7 separate regions of the Homo sapiens genome follow, and all the other regions are linked to region 1. The links are contacts of gene promoters, found by promoter capture Hi-C in blood cells and fetal thymus (Javierre and others, 2016). All regions are on one chromosome and are shown on one strand. The core of a region is centred on a gene start or on the middle of the fragment in contact, and the rest is flanking DNA. Distances in the headings are between cores, read along the strand shown.

What was found. Contacts are between HindIII fragments. The CHiCAGO score rates a contact against its expected background, and 5 or more counts as called.
Region 2: a contact is called between a fragment that was not itself captured here and the fragment with the promoter of TATDN1 in region 1, in 9 of 17 cell types (megakaryocytes, erythroblasts, total B cells and 6 more). The highest score is 10.1, in megakaryocytes.
Region 3: a fragment that was not itself captured here is called in contact with the fragment with the promoter of TATDN1 in region 1 in 5 of 17 cell types (naive CD4 T cells, total B cells, total CD8 T cells and 2 more); the score reaches 7.0 in naive CD4 T cells.
Region 4: a contact is called between a fragment that was not itself captured here and the fragment with the promoter of TATDN1 in region 1, in 6 of 17 cell types (endothelial precursors, naive B cells, total B cells and 3 more). The highest score is 8.1, in endothelial precursors.
Region 5: a contact is called between a fragment that was not itself captured here and the fragment with the promoter of TATDN1 in region 1, in 13 of 17 cell types (erythroblasts, naive B cells, total B cells and 10 more). The highest score is 11.8, in erythroblasts.
Region 6: a contact is called between a fragment that was not itself captured here and the fragment with the promoter of TATDN1 in region 1, in 1 of 17 cell types (M1 macrophages). The highest score is 5.9, in M1 macrophages.
Region 7: a contact is called between a fragment that was not itself captured here and the fragment with the promoter of TATDN1 in region 1, in 1 of 17 cell types (total B cells). The highest score is 6.3, in total B cells.

What each region holds. Positions count from the first base shown.
Region 1 is chr8:124,537,812-124,540,511 of GRCh38, reverse strand. It overlaps TATDN1 (TatD DNase domain containing 1), which reads left to right and starts at 1,427. Exons shown (of 12, transcript NM_032026.4): 1 at 1,427-1,487. The coding sequence starts at 1,466. NDUFB9 (NADH:ubiquinone oxidoreductase subunit B9) reads right to left here and starts at 1,389. Exons shown (of 4, transcript NM_005005.3): 1 at 1,225-1,389. The coding sequence starts at 1,325. RefSeq lists an enhancer at 1,497-1,566. The HindIII fragment of the contact is 3,000 bases long and covers 796-2,700 here.
Region 2 is chr8:125,012,471-125,015,170 of GRCh38, reverse strand. All of the region lies in intron 7 of SQLE (squalene epoxidase), which reads right to left. Among named protein-coding and RNA genes, the nearest start is that of SQLE, 15 kb to the right of the region's middle. The HindIII fragment of the contact is 3,605 bases long and covers 1-2,700 here.
Region 3 is chr8:124,949,008-124,951,721 of GRCh38, reverse strand. LINC00964 (long intergenic non-protein coding RNA 964) reads right to left here. Exons shown (of 4, transcript NR_027321.1): 4 at 627-906. Among named protein-coding and RNA genes, the nearest start is that of LINC00964, 8.4 kb to the right of the region's middle. The HindIII fragment of the contact is 6,113 bases long and covers 1-2,714 here.
Region 4 is chr8:124,919,081-124,921,830 of GRCh38, reverse strand. It overlaps the pseudogene MRS2P1. Among named protein-coding and RNA genes, the nearest start is that of LINC00964, 22 kb to the left of the region's middle. The HindIII fragment of the contact is 821 bases long and covers 848-1,668 here.
Region 5 is chr8:125,033,947-125,036,721 of GRCh38, reverse strand. All of the region lies in intron 26 of WASHC5 (WASH complex subunit 5), which reads left to right. Among named protein-coding and RNA genes, the nearest start is that of WASHC5-AS1, 5.4 kb to the left of the region's middle. The HindIII fragment of the contact is 917 bases long and covers 921-1,837 here.
Region 6 is chr8:124,847,416-124,850,115 of GRCh38, reverse strand. All of the region lies in intron 1 of LOC105375743 (a long non-coding RNA gene), which reads left to right. Among named protein-coding and RNA genes, the nearest start is that of MIR4662B, 27 kb to the right of the region's middle. RefSeq lists a silencer at 1,715-2,009 and enhancers at 1,715-2,009, 1,154-2,353. The HindIII fragment of the contact is 1,100 bases long and covers 864-1,963 here.
Region 7 is chr8:124,895,278-124,898,186 of GRCh38, reverse strand. No RefSeq gene overlaps it. Among named protein-coding and RNA genes, the nearest start is that of LINC00964, 45 kb to the left of the region's middle. The HindIII fragment of the contact is 969 bases long and covers 766-1,734 here.

The sequences.
Region 1 (2,700 bases), core at 178-2,677:
ATATAATGTATAATGATCAAATCAGGGTAATTTGGATATTCATCACCTCAAACATTTACCATTTGTGTTGGGATACCTGAATCCCTGATGGCTCAACTTCCTTCATCATCGATTTGTTTACATGTCCATTTTCCCCACTAATCCGTGAGCTGCTGCTGCTCAAAAATGGATTTACTAACATTTATATATTTAGCATAGAGCATAGAATCTGAATTGCAAATTCTGTCAAATCAATAAATAAATAAGGAAAACTCAAGGAAGAAACTAACAATCCCATCACATTGTACTTGGCCATCTTCCTGCCAAATCAAGAGAAGTATGTCAGTGATTTTCTAATAGTCACATATATGCAATCTGGGCTTCGAGGGTACCCTCTGTAATTCTTCCAGGCCTACTCCATTTTCCATAGAGTTTTTTTCCCAGAAGGCCTTCTTATAAAACTACGTTTGGAGAGTCGTAAGACTGGAGTGGAGGCGAGGCACTCACACATCTTGGGTTGTTAGCCCACCCTGCAATGAATTTAGGTGATTAAAATCTACACATTTTAACACTATGTTCTCAGACTAGTCTCAGACGGATAGAGGTCGAAAGAGAATTATGTAAGAGGTGAAAAAGATGTAAAGGTAATGAAAAGGACTAGATGAAGCTAAAAAGAGAAAAGCTAATGGGAGGGGTGGGAGAATGATGATGCTTTGGAGAAAGACCTAAATTTTAACCCTGGCTCAGACACTTAGAAACTCTATCACCTTGCGCAAGTTACCAGCTGTGCTCATCTTCTTATCTGTAAAATAAGCTTAAGATAATTCCTAACTCCTAGAGTTTTGCAGACTGAAGAAAATAATGCATAGTTTATTGCTGTTAATATTGGAAAGGAGAAGATCGTGAAGAAAACGATTGAGCGAGCGCTGGACCCATGACAATTACAATTTTAGGCACTTTCCTTTATTTCACTTAATTTTCCTGCGACCCTCTGCGCTGGTCGTGCGTCCGTTTTACTAAACAAAAAGCTGACGCCCAGACCCGACAAGCAACTCTACAAGGTCTCCCGGCCATAAGTGGCGAAGCCTGGATTTGAACCCGGGTCTACCATAGGATTCTGTGAAGCGAGAGGCCACCTTCCAATTCCGTTCCCGAAGTCCTTGAACCTCCAGGTACCCAGGGGCCTCTCCACCTCCATGGGGCCCCGAGGGTCACCTCCCCGAGTCCTGGGTCCCCATCCCTTACCTCTGGACGCACCACGACTCGAGGTGGCGTAGCGCCCGCTTATAAAGCCGCAACACCTTTTGCTGATGGGTCAGGTAGGGTCCCGACGCCAAGAACGCCATTACGGCGCTGACCTTCCCCGGCCGCGCGGAGAGCCGGGAAACTGCACGCCTGCTGCGGGTGACTGAGCGGGGCCAGCCGGAAGGGCGGAGTTGCCGGCGGCCACTTCCGCTTCCGCTGGGGAGGTCCTCCATGCGCAGTCATGAGTCGCTTCAAGTTTATCGGTAAGAGGAGCGTTTTCCACGCCCTTGGGTCTTTCTGACTTGTCCCGGGCGTCGGTCACCAAGGTCACAGGACCCAGGAATTGCGCCCTCCGGCATTGTAAGGGTTGAAAGGGCCGCTCAGTGGAGGAGGGCGCGGGGAGGTTTCTGGGTGCTGGTAATGCTCTGGTTCTTGATCTAGGTTCTGGATTCACGAGGGTGTATTTATTTGTAAAAATTAACAAGCCGTACAGTTATGATTTTTGTGCTGTTTTCAACATCTGTAATGTATTCAGTTTTTTAAGAAGAAAACTCCAAAAAGGCCAATCACTATGTTTCCATTCATCCCACGTGCACCTCCCGGCCCTTCCCCTCTGCCTTGGCGGAGAGGCTGACCGCTTCTGGGGACCAATTCACTCAAGCATTCATTCGTTCATATCATAGTTAGTGAGCGCCTCAAGTGGGCCTGGCACTGGCCTAGGAACACAGGGCACAAAGCTCCCAGTTGTACTGTCATCACCATCTGGTGGAGAAACTAGAAAACACAAGTAATGGGGAGAAAAACAAACTGTACTTGGCAAGTACAATGATCCAGTCGGCATCAGTAGAACGAGAGGGAGAATGCTGCGGGATTTAAATGGGCATGATCCTCGTTTTGTGGGGTTTCCAGCTACCTGAAGGTGGGAAATGACAGTGATCACACCTCTGCTTTAGCAAGGTAATCCTGATAGCTATTATGTAGGTTTTGTGGGAAATAGGGAGAGGTAGGGAAGCATTTCAAGAGCTTAAACTAGGGTAATGGAAAAGAGAGAGAAATGGAAGAGATGTGTGCAGCATTTAGCAGCTGAGTGTTCATGGCCGGTAGTAGAGAGTGAACAAAGATGACTCAGGGTTTGGAAAAGTACTTAAATATGAAATGGAAGCATGACTAGTTTGGCGGTGAAGAGAGGTACCCAGGTCCATTTGGATTAGGTTAAGTTTGAGATAATTATAGGACATCCAGGTAGAGATATCTGGGCAATTGGGAATGTGGTCTGGCAATCAAGAGATTAGGATTATACATTTAGATCTGAGAGTTATTTAAGCAGTATTTTTTTTTTTCAAAGACGTTGTGCTAAGTCCTGTGGAACTGTAAAATCTAGTGGTGCAGTTTTCAGACTGGAGACCTAAGACCTATGTACTGTACAGTCAAAAGCAAATGCAGGGGAGAATATGTTAAGTGCCAGGAAAAAGGTTT
Region 2 (2,700 bases), core at 152-2,651, 470 kb before region 1:
AAAAAGAGGCAAAGAAGGTCATTAGATAATGATAAAGGGGTCAATTCAGCAAGAGGATGTAACAATTACATATGCACCCAATACCGGAGCACTCAGATATATAAAGGAAATATTATTAGAGCTAAGGAGACAGACCCCAATACAATCATGGCTGGAGACTTCAACACCCCACCTTCAGCACTGAATAGATCATCCAGACAGATAAACAACAAACATCAGACTTAATCTGGACTACAGGCCAAACAGACCTAACAAATATTCACAGAACATTTCATCCAACAACTGCAGAATACACATTCTTCTCCTCAGCAAATCGATCATTCACAAGGATAGATCATGGGTAGGCCACAAAACAAGGCTTAAAAAATTCAAAAAACAATTGAAATCATATCAAGTATCTTCTCTGACCACAGTGGAATAAAACTAGAAATCAGTACTATGAGGAACTTTGGAGACTGTGTATACAAACACATGGAAATTAAACCACATGCTCTTGAATGACCAGTGGGTCAATGAAGAAATTAAGAAGTAAATATAAAAATTTCTTGATAGAAATAAAAATGCAAAGACAATATATAAAACCTGTGAGACACAGCAAAAGCAATACTTAAAGGGAAAGTTTTTAGCAGTAAGTGCCTACATCAAAAAAGCAGGAAAACATCAAATAAACAACCTAACAGTGCATCTCAACCAGAAAAGCAAGAGCAAACCAAACCCCAAATTAGTAGAAAATAATAAAGATCAGAGCCAAAATAAATGAAATGAAAAAAATACAAAAGATAACAAAATGAAAAGTTGGTTCTTTGAAAAGATAAAATCAGCAAACCTTTAAGACAAACTAAGAAAAAAGAAAGAAAACCCAATTAACTCCTTTTCCTGTTCCTATGTCAGCAAATGGCTGGCAAAACTATCTAAGCCAGAAACCTGGAATTTACATCAAGAGATTTCACTCTCATTATAATATCCAAATCATCACGTTTTTTACATTCTACATCCTAGATATTACCCAAATTTATTCATTACCTTTCATTTTACAACCCTAGTTCTGGCCTTTTATCATCATTGACAGAATAATTAATCTTAGTGTATGTTTTACTAGACTTTCCTCCAAACCATCCTCCACAAAAATGTCAGAGTATATTCCTGAAATAAAAGTCTAATCATGCCACTGCCTCTTTAAGAAAATTCCATTTACAAAAGTATCAAAAAAGGTAAAATACTTAGGAATAAATTTAACAAAAGAAATGCAAAACTTATACTCTGAAAACTACAAAATATTGTTGAAAGAAACCCTTACCTTTCAGTCAAGGGAATTTTGACCACAAGGGCAAGAAAATTCACTGGGGAACAAACAGTCTTTTCAACAAATGATACTGGGACAACTGAATATCCACACACAAACAAATCAAGCTGGACCCCTTCCTCTCAACAGACACAAAATTTAACTCAAAATGGATCAAAGAGCTAAATTTAAGAGGTAAAACTATAAAACTCTTAGAAGAAAATATAGGAGTAACAGGCCAGGCATGGTGGCTCATGCCTGTAATCCCAGGACTTTGGGAGGCTGAGGTGGGTGGATCACCTGAGGTCAGGAGTTTGAGACCAGCCTGGCCAACATGGCGAAACCCCGTCTCTACTAAAAATACAAAAATTAGCTGGGCACGGTGGCGAGCACCTATAATCCCAGCTACTCGGGAGGCTGAGGCAGGAGAATTGCTTGAACCTGGGAGGCCGAGGTTGCAATGAGCCGAGATCGCACCATCGCACTCCAGCCTAGGCGACAAGAGCGAAACTCCATCTCAAAAAAAAAAAAAGAAAAAGAAAACATAGGAGTAAATCTTTTTGAACTTAGATTGGACAAAGCCTTCCTAAATATGACATCAAAAGCACAAGCAACGAAAGAAAAAATAAACATGAAAATTTAAACCATGTGTACTTCAATGGAAACCATTAAGAAGAATGGAAAGAAAACCCACAGAATGAGAAAAATTTTGCAAATCACATATCTAATAAGGGACTTGTACCTAAAATATATAAAGGACTCTTGAAACTCAACAATACATAAATTTTAAATCTGCCCAATTAAAAAAATATGCAAAGTCTAAATATACATTTCTCCAAACAACAAATGGCCTATATGCATATGAAAAGATGTTCAACATCATTATCTATGAGAGAAATGCAAATCAGCACAATGATAAAAGGCCTAGTTCACACTACTAGGATGGCTATGCACACAAAGATAATACAAGTGTTCACTGACAAGGATGTGGAGAAATTAGAACTCACACACTGCTGAAAGGAATGTAACTGGGACAGCTATTTTGGAAAACAAGTCTAGCAGCTCCTCAAAAAGTTAAACGTGAACTACTATGTAATCCAGCAATATCACTCTTGGGTATATAACCAAGAAAAATGAAAATATATGTCCACACAAAAACTCGCACACAGATGTTCATAGCAGCATTGCTTGTAATAACCAAAAAGTAGAAACAACCCAAATATCTATCAATTGATGAATGGCTAAACAAAATGTAATATAGCCACACAATGGAAGATTATTTGGCCATAAAAACAAATGAAGAACTGAAACATGCTACAACATGAATGAACCTCAAAAACATTGTGCTAAATGAAAAGCCAGTTCCAAAGGGCTTTACTATACAATGCCTTTAGGAAACATCCCAAATAGACAAATCT
Region 3 (2,714 bases), core at 195-2,694, 410 kb before region 1:
TCTAAGTTTTATTTGCAACAGAGCTTTGTTTATCATTTTATTTTTTGTGCAATCTTTGCCTAGGCAGGTATAAAGGGAGCAGAATAGTGGCAAAATGTTCACACAGATAGAGCAAGTTAGTCACAGAAGAAAGCAGAGGAGATGATCATGTGAAGAAATAAATGTATAGGGGAGAAAAGCAATAAATCATAACTTCAACACACAGCCTTTCTTCTTGGTTTCTTTAAAGACAGCAAAAAAAATATGATGCCAGACTCACATAAATCGAAGTAGATAATGTCATTCTCAAAGAGTTTATCCAGCACTCTCCCATATGTCAATTATTCAACAACTATTTACTAAGCATCTACTACACTCAGGTATTCTGTTGGATGCTAAGGAAATCATGGTGAATAATTTGTTCTATGTACAGCCATATCTTAAGAAGTACATTCTAAGTAGTGCCACTCTTACATTGAAGTGCTGGAGGAAAACAAGTGATTTCCTAAATTACAACAGTAATATAGGCTTAGTGTAAAAAAAAAAAAGAAACAAAACACCAAACTTACACATATCCATAATTTTATTACCATGCTAATATAACTTTTTCTTGTTATCTATAAACTTATAACAAATCCAAAAACATAGTGGTTAAAAACAATTTATTATTATCATTCACAGGGCCTCATGGGCTCAATGAGGCAGTTCTTAATTAGAGTGTCTCAAATGGTGGCAGTCAGAGGGCATCTTTTTTGCCCATGTGGTTAGCTTGGGCTTCCTCACAGCATGATGGTTTCAGAGTGCTCAGACTTTTAAGACAGCATCTGGCATCCTTCAAAGCAAGTGTTCTAAGAGTCGCAGGCAGAAGCTGCAAGGACTTCTTAGGAGCTAGCTTCAGAAGTCACACGGCATGACTTTAGTAGTATTCTGTTGACCAAAGCAGTCACAAATCAGGCCACATTCAAGGGAACAAAGGAATAAACTGCAACCCTGGCTTGTGTGGATATAGGGAGAAGAAATTTATGCTGGTCAGCCATCTTGGAGACAAGCTACCATAATTATTTATCTTTTGTTAGTATGACTTTTCAAAAATTTTTCTACATAACCAAAATATAACCATTAAAATCAGGAAATTAACATTGATACTAACTGCAGTCTAATCCTCAGAACCCATTCAAGTTTTGCCAGTGATTCCAACAAAGTAATCCAGTTCAAAACCACACATTGCATTTAATTGTCAAGTCTTTTTGGTGTTCTTTAGCTTGGAAAAGTTCCTTTGTCTTCCCTTAACTTAAATGACCTTGGCAACTTTGATGATAGCTGACCAGTTATTACATAGAATGTCCCTCAATCTGAGTTTCTTACAATGTCTCTGATGTTTCCTTAAGTTATGTATCTTGGGTAGAAATACCACAGAAGTGTTGTATTCTTCTCACTGATACTATTGGCTGAGGCATAATTTACATCTGTCTCACTGCTGTTGATATTCAGTTAGATCACTTGATTAGGGTGGTATCCACTAGGCTCCTCCTAGCAGAGAACTAGGAATAACTTCCAAATTGCTCTTTAACCCTTTGTAATTAATAAGTGTTTTGTGCAGAGTTATTTTGAAATAGATATCCTGTTCCTCATCAAACTTTCAATTTATTCATTTATTTCTATCTTTATGGACGTACACCTTCCTATTTTATTCAAAGGGATTACGGTAGTTTTCTATTGCTGCTGAGACAAATCACATTTTAGTGGCTTAAAACAACATAAATGCATTATCTAACAGTTCTTTATGTCAGGAGTCTGACACAGGACTCACTGGGCTAAAAATCAAGGTGTTGACAGGGTGGCATTGCTTCCTGGAGGCTCTAAGGGTGAATCCATTTTATTGCCTTTTCTGTCTTCTAGAGGCCACTCACATTCCTTGTCTCCTGGATCCCTTCCTCCATTTGGAAGCCAACAACACAGGTTGAGTCCTTCTCATGCTTCCATCTCTCTGGTTCTCTGTAGTCAGGAAGGATTTCTATTTTTAAGGACTCATGTGATTACACTGGGCCTGTCTAGATAATCTGTATTAGTCAGTGTTCTCTGGAGGAACAGGACTAAAAGGATAGATGTATATATAAAAGGGAGTTTATTAGGAGTATTGACTCACACAATGCCAAGTTGAAGTCCCACAATAGGCTGTCTGCAAGCTGAGTAGCAAGCAAGGAAGTCAGTTTGAGTCTCAAAACCTCAAAAGTAGGGAAGCCAACAGTGCAGCCTTCAGTCTGTGGCAGAAGGCCTGAGAGGCCCTGGCAAACCACTGGTGTAAGCCCAAGAGTCCAAAAGCTGAAGAACTTGGAGTCTAATGTTCGAGGGCAGGAAGCATCCAGCAAGGGAGAAACAGGAAGGCTGGAAGACCCAGCCAGTCTAGTCCTTCCAGGCTCTTCTGCCTGCTTTATCCTAGCCATGGGGGCATCTGCTTAGATCGTGCCCATCCATATTGAGGGTAGGTCTGCCTCTCCCAGTCCACTGACTTAAATGTTAACCTCCTTTGGCAACACCTTTACAGATACACCCAGGAACAATACTTTGCATCCTTCAATCCAATCAAGTTGACACTCAATTTTAGCTATTACATAATCCAAGATAATCTTTCTATTTTGGGGTCTCTAATCAAATCTGCAAATTCCCTTTTCCCATGCAAGATTCCATGTTCATAGATTCCACTGATGCAGGCATAGACAACTTTGTAGGCCATT
Region 4 (2,750 bases), core at 9-2,508, 380 kb before region 1:
CCAAAAGCAATTCCCATTAGTCCAAAGAGTGAAAGAGAGAAGATTCCCATGGTCAGCAGTAGATTCAACCTCATCATCACATTACGGTGGCTGTCCAGATTGATGAAAATGATACTTCGTGAATCATCAGTCAGTACCCTAAGCTCCCAAACTGTATTGAAGAGATCGTCAGCCAATAGGTAGTAGTTTTCCAACAGCAGGTCCATCTCTTCTGTGTTAGGGACAAGCTACCCCAGGACCTGCCCCTGCCTCTCAGTGCAGCTGACCCCTACGCTGAATACTCTGCAGCTGCATTCCTGAACCCTTATCTAGGTGCTCCAGCAAGGTCACCAGACTTGCTTACAGCCCTCCGGCTGGCACGGGGGAGGTCACGAGAAACGTGGATAAACCTAAGTAACACCCTCTTGTAAATTCCTATTTTCACAAGATAATATATTGTAAGCCGGTCACGAGATGCTATGTGGTAAAGTTAACCGAAAAACAACCCCAGGGTCTCTTTCCCCAATATAAACCCCTCATTTTGTAAGCTCAGGGCTGCCTCCTCTGACTGTAGTGGAGCAGCCTGGCAGGTTAATAAACATCCTTGCCTGACCTTGGGTCTCTCTCTCGTCTTTTCTCTCAGCTAACCTTACATTCTGCATGGCGAATCCCAGTACTGCTCTTTTCAAAGACTGGTGGGTCACTCCATTTTGATAGACAGAGCTCTTCTAGTAACTTTTCCTCACCCAAGATCTCCAAAATTGACTCTTGGAAAATTTTAATATCTGTTTCTAACTCTGATAGACTTTTGTCATTCCGTAGTAAAATATGCGGTTAGCTTTTGTCCACAGAAGAATGTTTGAAAGCTTCTAAGGTCTCAAAGGTCAGTGTCTGCAAAACGCTACGTTTCCTCTAAAGGGGGTTGATCCAGTATTTCAGGGGTGCTTCCATAGCACTAAACTCAAAAGGTAAAGAGTATGTAACAGGTTGACCCTCTCCAGACAACTGTGAAGGGAGTTCCCAGAACAGCCATTGCTCTAAATTTAAATTACCATCATCTAATATCAGGAGACACTCTGGAGTTATCACAGCTTTCAAATACTCCATTGTCATGATAAACCTGCCGTTTCTGGTTGTGATGCTCACTACATGCTGAAATCTCAAGTCTCTGGCTTGAAGACCTAACTCTTGGTATAAGTCAGTTTTCTTCCTTTCAAAAGGAGTAACATTTCCCTGTTTGTCAAATTTTGTTGCGGTAAATACTGGGGCTACACTGCCTACAGTGGCTTGAGAGACATCAGAAGTTCTAAACCCATGCATTGCACCTGCTACGCAGAGCCGGCGGGCCCACACAGGTCAGATCCAAGGCCAGGGAAGTCCCATTGCATGGGTCAGGAGGCAGGGCAAGCTCTGCAGGCATTCATGGCACTACAGCTAGAAGCAGGCAGTAGCCAGACCCCAAGCCCTCATGCCGGACTGTGGCGGCTCAGTCCGCAGCACTCACCTGGCGCTCTTTTGCTCATTTTCTATGTTTTATTTTCTAAACAGTTTTTCACTGTTCACTTTTGAGAATTTTTTATATATTCTAGACACAAGTTCTTAGTAAGATGTGTGACTTGCGAATATTTTCTCCCAGTCTGTGACTAGCTTGCCTTTTCATCTTAACAGGGCCTCTGCTGAGCAAAAGCTTTTAATTTTGATGAGGTCTAATTGATTAATTTCACCTTTTATGGATTGTGCTTTTCATGTCAAGTGTAGGAATGCTTTGCCTAGCCCTGGAGCTAGATTTTCTCCTGTGTTTGTCTTGGAAAGGAGAAGAGTAAATTGACTAAAGCAATGTAGGGTATCTGGGCAGAACTGAGGAGTCACTAAGGGCAAAGGAATGGGAGACGGAGGAGGCTTCAAGGTTACTGCTGGTCCCTGGAGGGGGCACCATGGGTAGCAGCTCCTTCCTCTTCTAGCTTGAGTTACATGGGCAGAGCAGATGGTCATCTTGGCAATATGATGGGAGGCTTAGGTTTCTTCCTCCCCCACAATACTCACAGACCCTGAATAAATTGTCTAGTTCTTTGATTCCCTCAGAGCTTTATCCGCAATCACATGTTTTCACTACATTGTCATGACTGACTTCTCATAACAGCTCTGTAGGGAGGACATATTATTATCCCCTTTTACAGAAGATACAACTAAGGCCAGAGAAGGGATGGGACTGAACACAAATCTCCTGATATGGAGAGGAATGACTGTTCTTCTCTACCAGCTGAATCTTGAATTCCGCCACCAGTTATTTCATGAGGTCAGTGGTTCTCAAAGGATGATCCATGGGCCCCTAGGGATGCCTAAGACCTTTTCAGAGGGTCCTCAAGGTCAAAGCTATTTCCCCAATAATGCAAAAACATTATTTGCCTTTTCTCCATAAGCAAAAATTCTCCATTTTCACGTATGATGCCAAAGCAAAGACAGGTAAAAAAAACTGCCTTAGCATGAATTGAGGCAGTGGCACTGATTCTTCATCCCCTCAATCACTCACAGGAGAGGTAATAGCCAGTTTCACACTGATTTCTTAATAAATGGGAAGTCCACACGAAGTATTTCTGCTGCATACCAAAATAAAATGGTTGTCTTGAGGAAAAGTACTTCTGCAATTATTTAAGTTGCAAGCTGAACTATTTTTTTTGCATGCAATGCAAGTTTTACTTGAGATAATGGCTGACAAACTATACTGATTTAGACTTGGGTATTTGGCAGGCATTTTCTTAACAAATGAACAA
Region 5 (2,775 bases), core at 130-2,629, 500 kb before region 1:
ATTTTTTTTTTAAGTACACTTATTTATTTATTTTATTTTATTTATTTTTTGAGACAAGGTCTCACTCAGTCACTCAGATGGGAGTACAGTGGCACAATCTCAGCTCACTATGGCCTTGACCTCTCGTGCTCAAGAATCCTTCCACCTCAGCCTCCTGAGTAGCTGGGACTATAGGTGCACACCGCCATGCCCAGCTAATTTTTTTGTATTTTTTGTAGCAACAGGGTTTTGCCATGTTGCCGAGACTGGTTTCAAACTCCTAGGCTCAAGCGATCCACCTGCCTCGGCAACTAAAGGGCTGAGATTACAGGCGTGAGCCATTGTGCCCAGCCCTAGACAGTGGATTTAAAATCAACAAAGTATGGTCTACCTCAGTAAGGGTTCATTGTCCAGCTTGTAGAATGTGAGGGACCTTTGTTTTGATTCTCTTCTTTAATGTTTAGGCAGCTAATTGTGGTGTGAAAGAAACTTTTTTTGGTTGATGTTCTGTTCTTTCAACAGGATGCATGTGCCAGCTGTGTATCTGGAACCATGATGGGAAAAGTAACAATATAGTTAAGGAGATAAGACTAATATTTATACATGAACATTTAATACTTTATGTATGATTGTATGTCAGAATATTCTGTACAAACAAGAGACACCAAAGCCTTTCAATATGTCTGTTCTCTCCAGGAATATAACCCTAATTTATTTTTGTCATTCGTCAGAATATTTTTGTAGTTACATAATAGATAACAAAGTGTTTCCTCTGCCTTCAAACTTTGTATCCAGCTAAATGACATTTTTAAAAATCCACTATAGACTTTAGTTTACTTTAAAAGCATTATAAGAGCATTTCTACAAATGTAATCATTGTTTCTTAACTAGAGATTCCTAAATATATTTCTTCCTTACAGTACTTTCCTATTTCATAAGCTTTTTTAGGGTGAAAATGTGGAATCTCTTTAATGTTTTTATTCTCTCATTCAAAAGTAATCATTGATTCTAGACACTGCTTCCATGACAATGCCTGTGATTGTCACAGAAGGCAGAGCATGATCTCCTCAAACAATACTTGCTGTAGGAGGGAGGGAACCAATGTGTGTTTGGAATCTGGCTTCACCACTTATCACCTATGTGACTTTGGCCAAGTCACCGCAAACTGAGTGCCCAACAGGTGCTGAGTCCCTTTCTATATATTGGTCAAAATCAATTTAAAGGGCCATCCCAAGTGTAATGTAAAGGTTCATCTGAAGATTCAGAGATTCATGTTCTCTCTCTGTTCTATGTTATTATTCAATAGGAATATATGATTCTTGATAATGAACTGTCAGTGCAGAAAGAACCTTCTTTTCATTAAAGAATAACTTTTTGTTGACTTCTCATTCTAATTTTTTTTTCATTGTGTATATGATTAGGGCCTGGCACCTTGATTGTAAAGCTGCTTATGGAAAGTATCACTCTCCCTGGAATTCCCAGATCTTAAAACATAACACAACAAAATCTTTATGTATCCTAGAAATGTGGTGTTTATAACTGACTATAATTCTTCTCATCAATAAGACTGATGTGTTAATGCAGGAACTAAATTACAGTAGGACTGAGGAAGGAACAATTGTTTGGTATCTTTGTGGGTATTCAGTTGCTCATATAAGGGTGAGACTATCTCTAGACTATTCTGTTCCATTGATGTGTTTGTCTTTTCTTATGCCAATAATGTCTTGATTATTGAAACTGTAAAGAGAGCCTTGAAACTGTATATCCGAAAAACATTTATTTAACCTTGTAAACACCGTTCTCAGCATTGGCCTATGAAATGCATACCTGGCTTGGTCTGTGTTTGAAGAAAGAAGCTTCGTGGTGTAGTGCTAGTTGTAGAAGTGTTTGTTGTTAACATCACTCTTGCTTTCCACCTGGAAAGGATTATTTCTCCATACTGAGTCCTGTTAGGATTCTTCCTCCATGTTCTGAATTGCCAAGGCCTAGGTTAGGTTATTCAGGATCACTTGTTTAGGCTTCTCTGGTTTGGGGAAGATTTTCCGGTCTTCACAAGAAGTCAAATATGGGACCTGAGGGTCTGTCTAACCAGTTAACTTGATAAGAAACTGCCAACCCTTTGTCCAAAGTGGTTGTGCCAGTTACACTCTCACCAAGAGTGAGTATATGTGTAGTCCACATCCTCGCCATTATTTGGTGGCGTCAGTCATTTTCATTTTAGCCATTCTTTTTTTTTTTCTGAAACAGAGTCTCACTCTGTCACCCAGGCTGAAGTGCAGTAGCGTAATCTCGGCCCACTGCAACCTCCACCTCCTGGGTTCAAGCAGTTCTGCCTCGGCCACCTGAGTAGCTGGAATTACAGGCTACAAGCATGCATCACCATGCTCGGGTAATTTTTGTATTGTTAGTAGAGACAGGTTTCACCATGTTGGCCAGGCTGGTCTCGAACTCCTGACCTCAAGTGTTCCACCCACCTTGGCCTCCCAAAGTGCCAAGATTACAGGCATAAGCCACTGAACCCAGCCCATTTTAGCCATCCTGATGGGTATCTATGGTATCTTGTTGCAGCTTTAATTTGCCTCCCTGATGATTAATGATTTTGAGCACTTTTTCATGTGCTTATTGGCCATTCCTTATATCCTTCTCTGCGAAGTGCCTGTTCTAGTCTTATGCTCGTTTTTAAATTTTTTTTTTATTACAGAGTTGTAGTAGTTATGTATATATTATGGATACAAGTTCCTTATTAGATATGTTTTGAGAATATTGTGACTTATCTATGTATTTTTTTACTGGTAA
Region 6 (2,700 bases), core at 164-2,663, 310 kb before region 1:
TACATGATATTTATATTTAACAAAACAATTTGTTTTAAAAGAAAACAATACCTGTTTTAAAGAGCTATGAGAATGAAAAGAGACTGTGTTCATCTAGCACTTAGCACAGATCTGGCATGCAAGAAGTACTGAATGGGCGGAAGCAATACTTGTTATCCCTACCATTGGTCACCGCTGTGCGTTGCATCTGCCGTGGGTATGTGGGAGACTTCAGGCCTCACATCTATCACAGGTGGGGAGTTTCTGTTGTCTTGCCTGCTTCACTGGGTGGTTGTGATGAGCAAAGGAGGTCTTGTGTTGAGATGCTTCATAACCTTTTTTTTTTTTTAAAGTGAGGCTGGGCACAGTGGCTCACGTCGGTAATCGCAGCACTTTGGGAGGCAAAGATGAGAGGATTGCTTAAGTCCAAGAGTTTGAAACCAGTCTGGGCAACATAGTGAGACCCTGTCTTTACAAAAGAAATTAAAAAATAAGCCAGGCTTGGTGGTGCAATACACGTGGCCCCAGCTACACAGGAGGCTGAGGCAGGAGGATCGCTTGAGCCCAGAAAGTTGAAGTAGCAATGAGTTGTGTTCCTGCCACTGCACTCTGGGTGGGGTGACAGAATGAGACTCTCAAAAGAAAAAAAAAGTGGAGGAATGATTGATCAAGGTGTTATTAACACATTTCTTAGCTAGCTGAACTTCTTGTCTGTCTTCTCTTTGCACTTCGTATTTATCCTATCACTGCACTTGTCACCTTCCCCGGTGGTAACTTCCTCAGGCCTCTCTCCCCCTCACCTGTCATGAAATCCTCAGGCAGGATCTTCCTCATTTCCATATTCCAGCACCCAGGCCAGCATCTGCACCCACACAGAAGAAGCTTCATTTATTTTTGCTGATCTCAGCTGTTCTGGAGACTTGAAACAACTTTTTAGATGATTTTAACCAGAAGAACTTCTGAGGACTGAAGGCAAGAGGTTTGGTTCTGCTTTACAGATTGGCGTCCCCCCCAGGTGCAACTGACCCAGTAAATGTGTAATTGTCTATACCTGCGCAAATGCAGGCTCCTTGATTAACATGCATCGCCCTCTGGGGAAGAAAGGGAAGGGAAGGAAAGGGAAGGATAACTCAGGGAAAGTAGGAAAAACTCTCCTGGACCTCCCAGGAAAAGGTGACTTCAGGACATGGGCTGCCTGGTTGTTTTCAATGGTTTTCATTATTTAGTTTGAGCTCCTGGGGAGTAAATGTTTCTCAGGCATATTTTGGGGATCTAATTCTGGAGTCCTTGAGCTCGAAATAATGCAATAAAATACCTGCTCCGTGGAAGTGAAAATGGCTGCTTCGCAGGCTACCGAAGCTCTCTGTGCACACCCTTCACAGACAGGAGCTTCCAAGAGGTTAGGTAAGGTGTCCAAGGACTCAGAGGGAAAGTGTCAGAACCGGGACAACAGCATACAGTTCCTGGATAGGAGGGATCCCACAACCTGACTGACAGGCTGAGTGTTGCGATGAACTGAGGAACAAAGGCTGCTTCTCTGGAGCAGGCAGGCAGTTTGCATATTAAAGTACAAAGTGTACTGTAATCTCAGCTACTTGAGAGGCTGAAGCAGGAGAATTGCTTCAACCCGGGAGGTGGGGGTTGCAGTGAGCCGAGATTGCACTACTGCACTCCAGCCTGGGGGACAGACAGAGTGAGACTCCGTCTAAAAAATAAATAAATAAATAATAAAAAATACTAAGTGTATTCATCCTAGAGTTTCTGTACCTTTCATGATGGTTGAAGCAGCTAACTTTTGGACTGAACTTGCCCTCCAAACTCCAGACCAGAAATACCACCTATTTGTCATTCTTCCTTTTGACTCATACTAATTCCTCAGCATGTCCTACAGAAGGGAGTGTTGATAAGCCATGAAAAAGAGGAAGAACATATGATGAGGTAGCATGAGGGGCTTTCTTACTCACCAAATGTAAAGGAACAAGCTTACTCAGCCAGTCTTAATGATTAGCAAGGGACTTTCTCAAGGAAGAAAAGAAAATGGCCGCCACAGTGCTTTCCCCTCACAGTGCACAATTTGCCAATGAGTTCAAAGTGTCTCCGTAACTTCATGCCATTTCTTCTGGTAAGGTTTGGGGGCAGTCAGGGAGGGGTGGTAATTAGTGTTAGATGGGCATACCGAAATAAGGCATAGAGAGGATAACTGGTTTGTTCAGGGGCACACGGCAAACCCATGAAGTCAAACTCAAGTGGCGTCAGGGAGCGCTCAGGCTTCTTCCTGCCTCTAGAAGATTTCACAAGGCCAGGAAGCCAGCAGCCCTAGGGTCAAGTGAAGGGGAGGCAGCTCTGGGACCCACCCAAGAGCAGTTTCTGGTCAGGCATTCCTGGCAACTTGTGGTACCTCGGTCCACCCACGCCTCCTCCACGATGAAAGCTGATAGGCAAGGCCAACGGTCCTCTGGGGCCAGGCAGTGCCTCCGGCCTGGTTTAGGGGGCACTGAGAGGTCTCCCTTCTAAAAATATCTCCCTCCCTTTTCCTGCTGTGGAAGCTGAAGTGGTCACATGCAAGGCTTACTCCCGTGGTTTGAAGCATTATAGTCCCAGTAGATCTGATTTAAAAAATAAATGCCATTATGAGTGGACCAAACAAGTATTACCACACCGTAACATGGGACTTGGCATTTACTTATACCTCTCTCTAAATCCAAAGAAGGATTTGAGAGT
Region 7 (2,909 bases), core at 1-2,500, 360 kb before region 1:
TATCTAAATATCTAATACACAACTGTATCCACACATCTAAATATCTAATACACAACCGCCAGGTGCAGTGGCTTACACCTGTAATCTCAACAACTTGAGAGGATGGCTAGGGCCTCCGAGTTCTGGAGTTCGAGACCAGCCTGGGAAATAGCAGGACCCTGTCTCTAAAAAATATAAATATATTTTTTAAAATTAGGAGTGGTGGCATATGTCTGTAGTCGTAGCTACTTGGGGAGATTGCTTGAACCCTGGAATTCAAGGCTGCAGTGAGCTACAGTCATGCCACTGCACTGCAGCCTGGGCAACAGAGCAAGACCCTAGCTCTAAAAACAAACAAACAAACAAACAAATAAAATACGCAAACAGATGTAAGCAAGTGCTTTGCTTCATGTGTCAGGCCTCTGAGCCCAAGCCTGCACATATACATCCAGATGGCCTGAGGCAATCAGAAGTGCAAAAGAAGTGAAACAGCCAGCTCTTGTCTTAACAGATTGAACAACCTTATGACATTCCATTATGACTTGTTCCTTCCCTGCCCCAACTGATCGATCGATCGACCTTGTGACATTCTTCTTCTGGACAATGAGTCTTATGATCTCCCCACCATGCACCTTGTGACCCCCTCATAGGCTGACAATAGATAACCACCTTTAACTGTAACTTTCCACTGCTTACCCCAGTCCTATAAAACTGCCCCATCCCTATCTCCCTTTGCTGACTCTCTTTTCGGACTCAGCCCACCTGCACCCAGGTGATTAAAAAGCTTTATTGCTCACACAAAGCCTGTTGGTGGTCTCTTCACACGGATGTGCATGACATCATGCACTAGCCATTATGTGCACTCTGCATGCCAGTTAAAAAAGACTGAGCCTGCAGAGTTCTTCCTGGGAGTTCTTAGGAACAGGAGGCAGTGGCATTTTCCACATTTGGAACACAGAACTCAGGCAACTAGGATGCACGGAGGTGCAGAGCAGCTCCATAAGGTCTGCAGGAGCTGGCTGGGCTCTTAAGAATTTCTCTCTGCGTCCTTCTGCATTTTGTCAAGCTGGCTAGCTGCATGATAGCCAAGCACTTGATTTTTGCCCCTCCATTTCCCGTTGCACACCCTGTCTTTCTGGTGTGGAGTTTAACCAGACATCAGCATCAGGCTGTTGGTTTCCCTTGCAAAGTGATGGCTTCCGAACCCCTGGAGTTCCAGGAAGCACAATTTGCACACTCCATCTTGTCGTCTACGGTAGCTACCCTCTAGTTCACAGGATAGCAGGATAAAGGACTTTGAGTCCTTTGGTTACAAGTTGCCACGGACAAGGGAAGTCATTTTCCTGAACTCAAAATACCCATCTGTGTGTTATCGACTGTTTTTTTTTTTCTAGATGAAAACAACTACATTAACAAAAACAAGATAAATTTAAGTAGTTCATGGTAGGTCCAGTGAAAGCTATAATCCGGGGTTTTATGTTTCATTAATGTTTCAAAAATTAAGGTTTAGCAAAAAAGGTGGGATTGGGGGCCACCAAGAAGAAAGGCAGCACTCCTCTCCAATAACTTGGGCTCGTGATAAAGGGGAAAGCACTTATCCTTAAACCAGACCTCACCCCTTGAAAGATAATTTCTTCTCTAAAGAAATGAGCAGGAAGGGGTGGGGCTCCCGGGCTCACAGAATTTTATCTCAAGACAATGACACGGTCTAATTGCCTGAGTAAGCAGGTTCTGAACACACTAGTCTTCAAAGCTTTGAACCTGCTTCCCTGTACCTGTTTTGAATTTCCTCCTCTCTAACGTGTATTTATATCCTGCCTATTACAAGCTGACAAGAACAATCACTAGCATTATCTGTTTCCTTTCAGATCCTGGTGTAATTCACTTACCTTCTTCCCACGTTTTCTTTTCCTTGCCATCTAACCAGACTGCCTCATAAAGATAAAGGAAGGAGAGAGGTAGCATCTTTGGATGTTATTAAGAAAAAAACAGACAAACCAAACAGGCTATTTAGTCCTGGGTACCTGGAAGAAGTTTTTGTAAATTCATTCATTAATGTGTTCATTCCATTAAGAATTTACCAGGAGGTGACTATGAATTGAGCCCTATGCCAGGCAGTAGGGATTAAAAGGAGAACAAGTCCCTTTCCCTTAAGAAACTCAGTCTAGTAGAAGACAGAGACAAACACCTTAGGTATTTACAAGAGAGTCAGTGTAAATAAACTTGACTGTTATCGTGGAAAAGTATGTATCCAGGGTTAGGCTAAAGAAGAGGTAAGGATGATGTCTGCTGATTTGACTGAAGTTGTCTAGATTTTCTCATTACTGACAGTTGTGTCTTAAGGACTTCCTAGAGGCAATGCCAGGCTTTGGGTGGACAGTCATGATGTGTACAGGAGTCACCAGAATGCCTTTGCTTTATGGATGTATTTCTTGTTGGACTCATTTTCCTAACATTTGGAGGAAGGAGGAAGAGTGAAAAGCACAGCCGAGACAGAAAGTGAGTGCAGAGAGATGTCTTAGGTCATCAGCTATTATTTTAGTTGGTGCAAAAGTAATCGCGGTTTTTGCCATAACTTTTAATAGCTCTCTGCTTAGGGACAAAAGAAAAGGCAACTTCTTGCATGACTCAGCTTTCAGCTTAATTGTTTCCTTTTGGCAGAAGGAACTGGGGTACCAAGTTTTTTTTTTCTTTTTTTCTTTTGAGACCGTGTCTTGCTCTGTCGCCCAGGCTGGAGTGCAGTGGTGCGATCTTGGCTCACTGCAAGCGCCGCCTCCCGGGTTGATGCTGTTTTCCTGCCTCAGCCTCCCGAGTAGCCGGAACTACATGCGCCCGCCACCGCGCCCGTCACCACGCCCGGCTAATTTTTTGTTTTTGTATTTTTAGTAGAGATGGGTTTTCACCATGTTAGCCAGGATGGTCTCAATCTC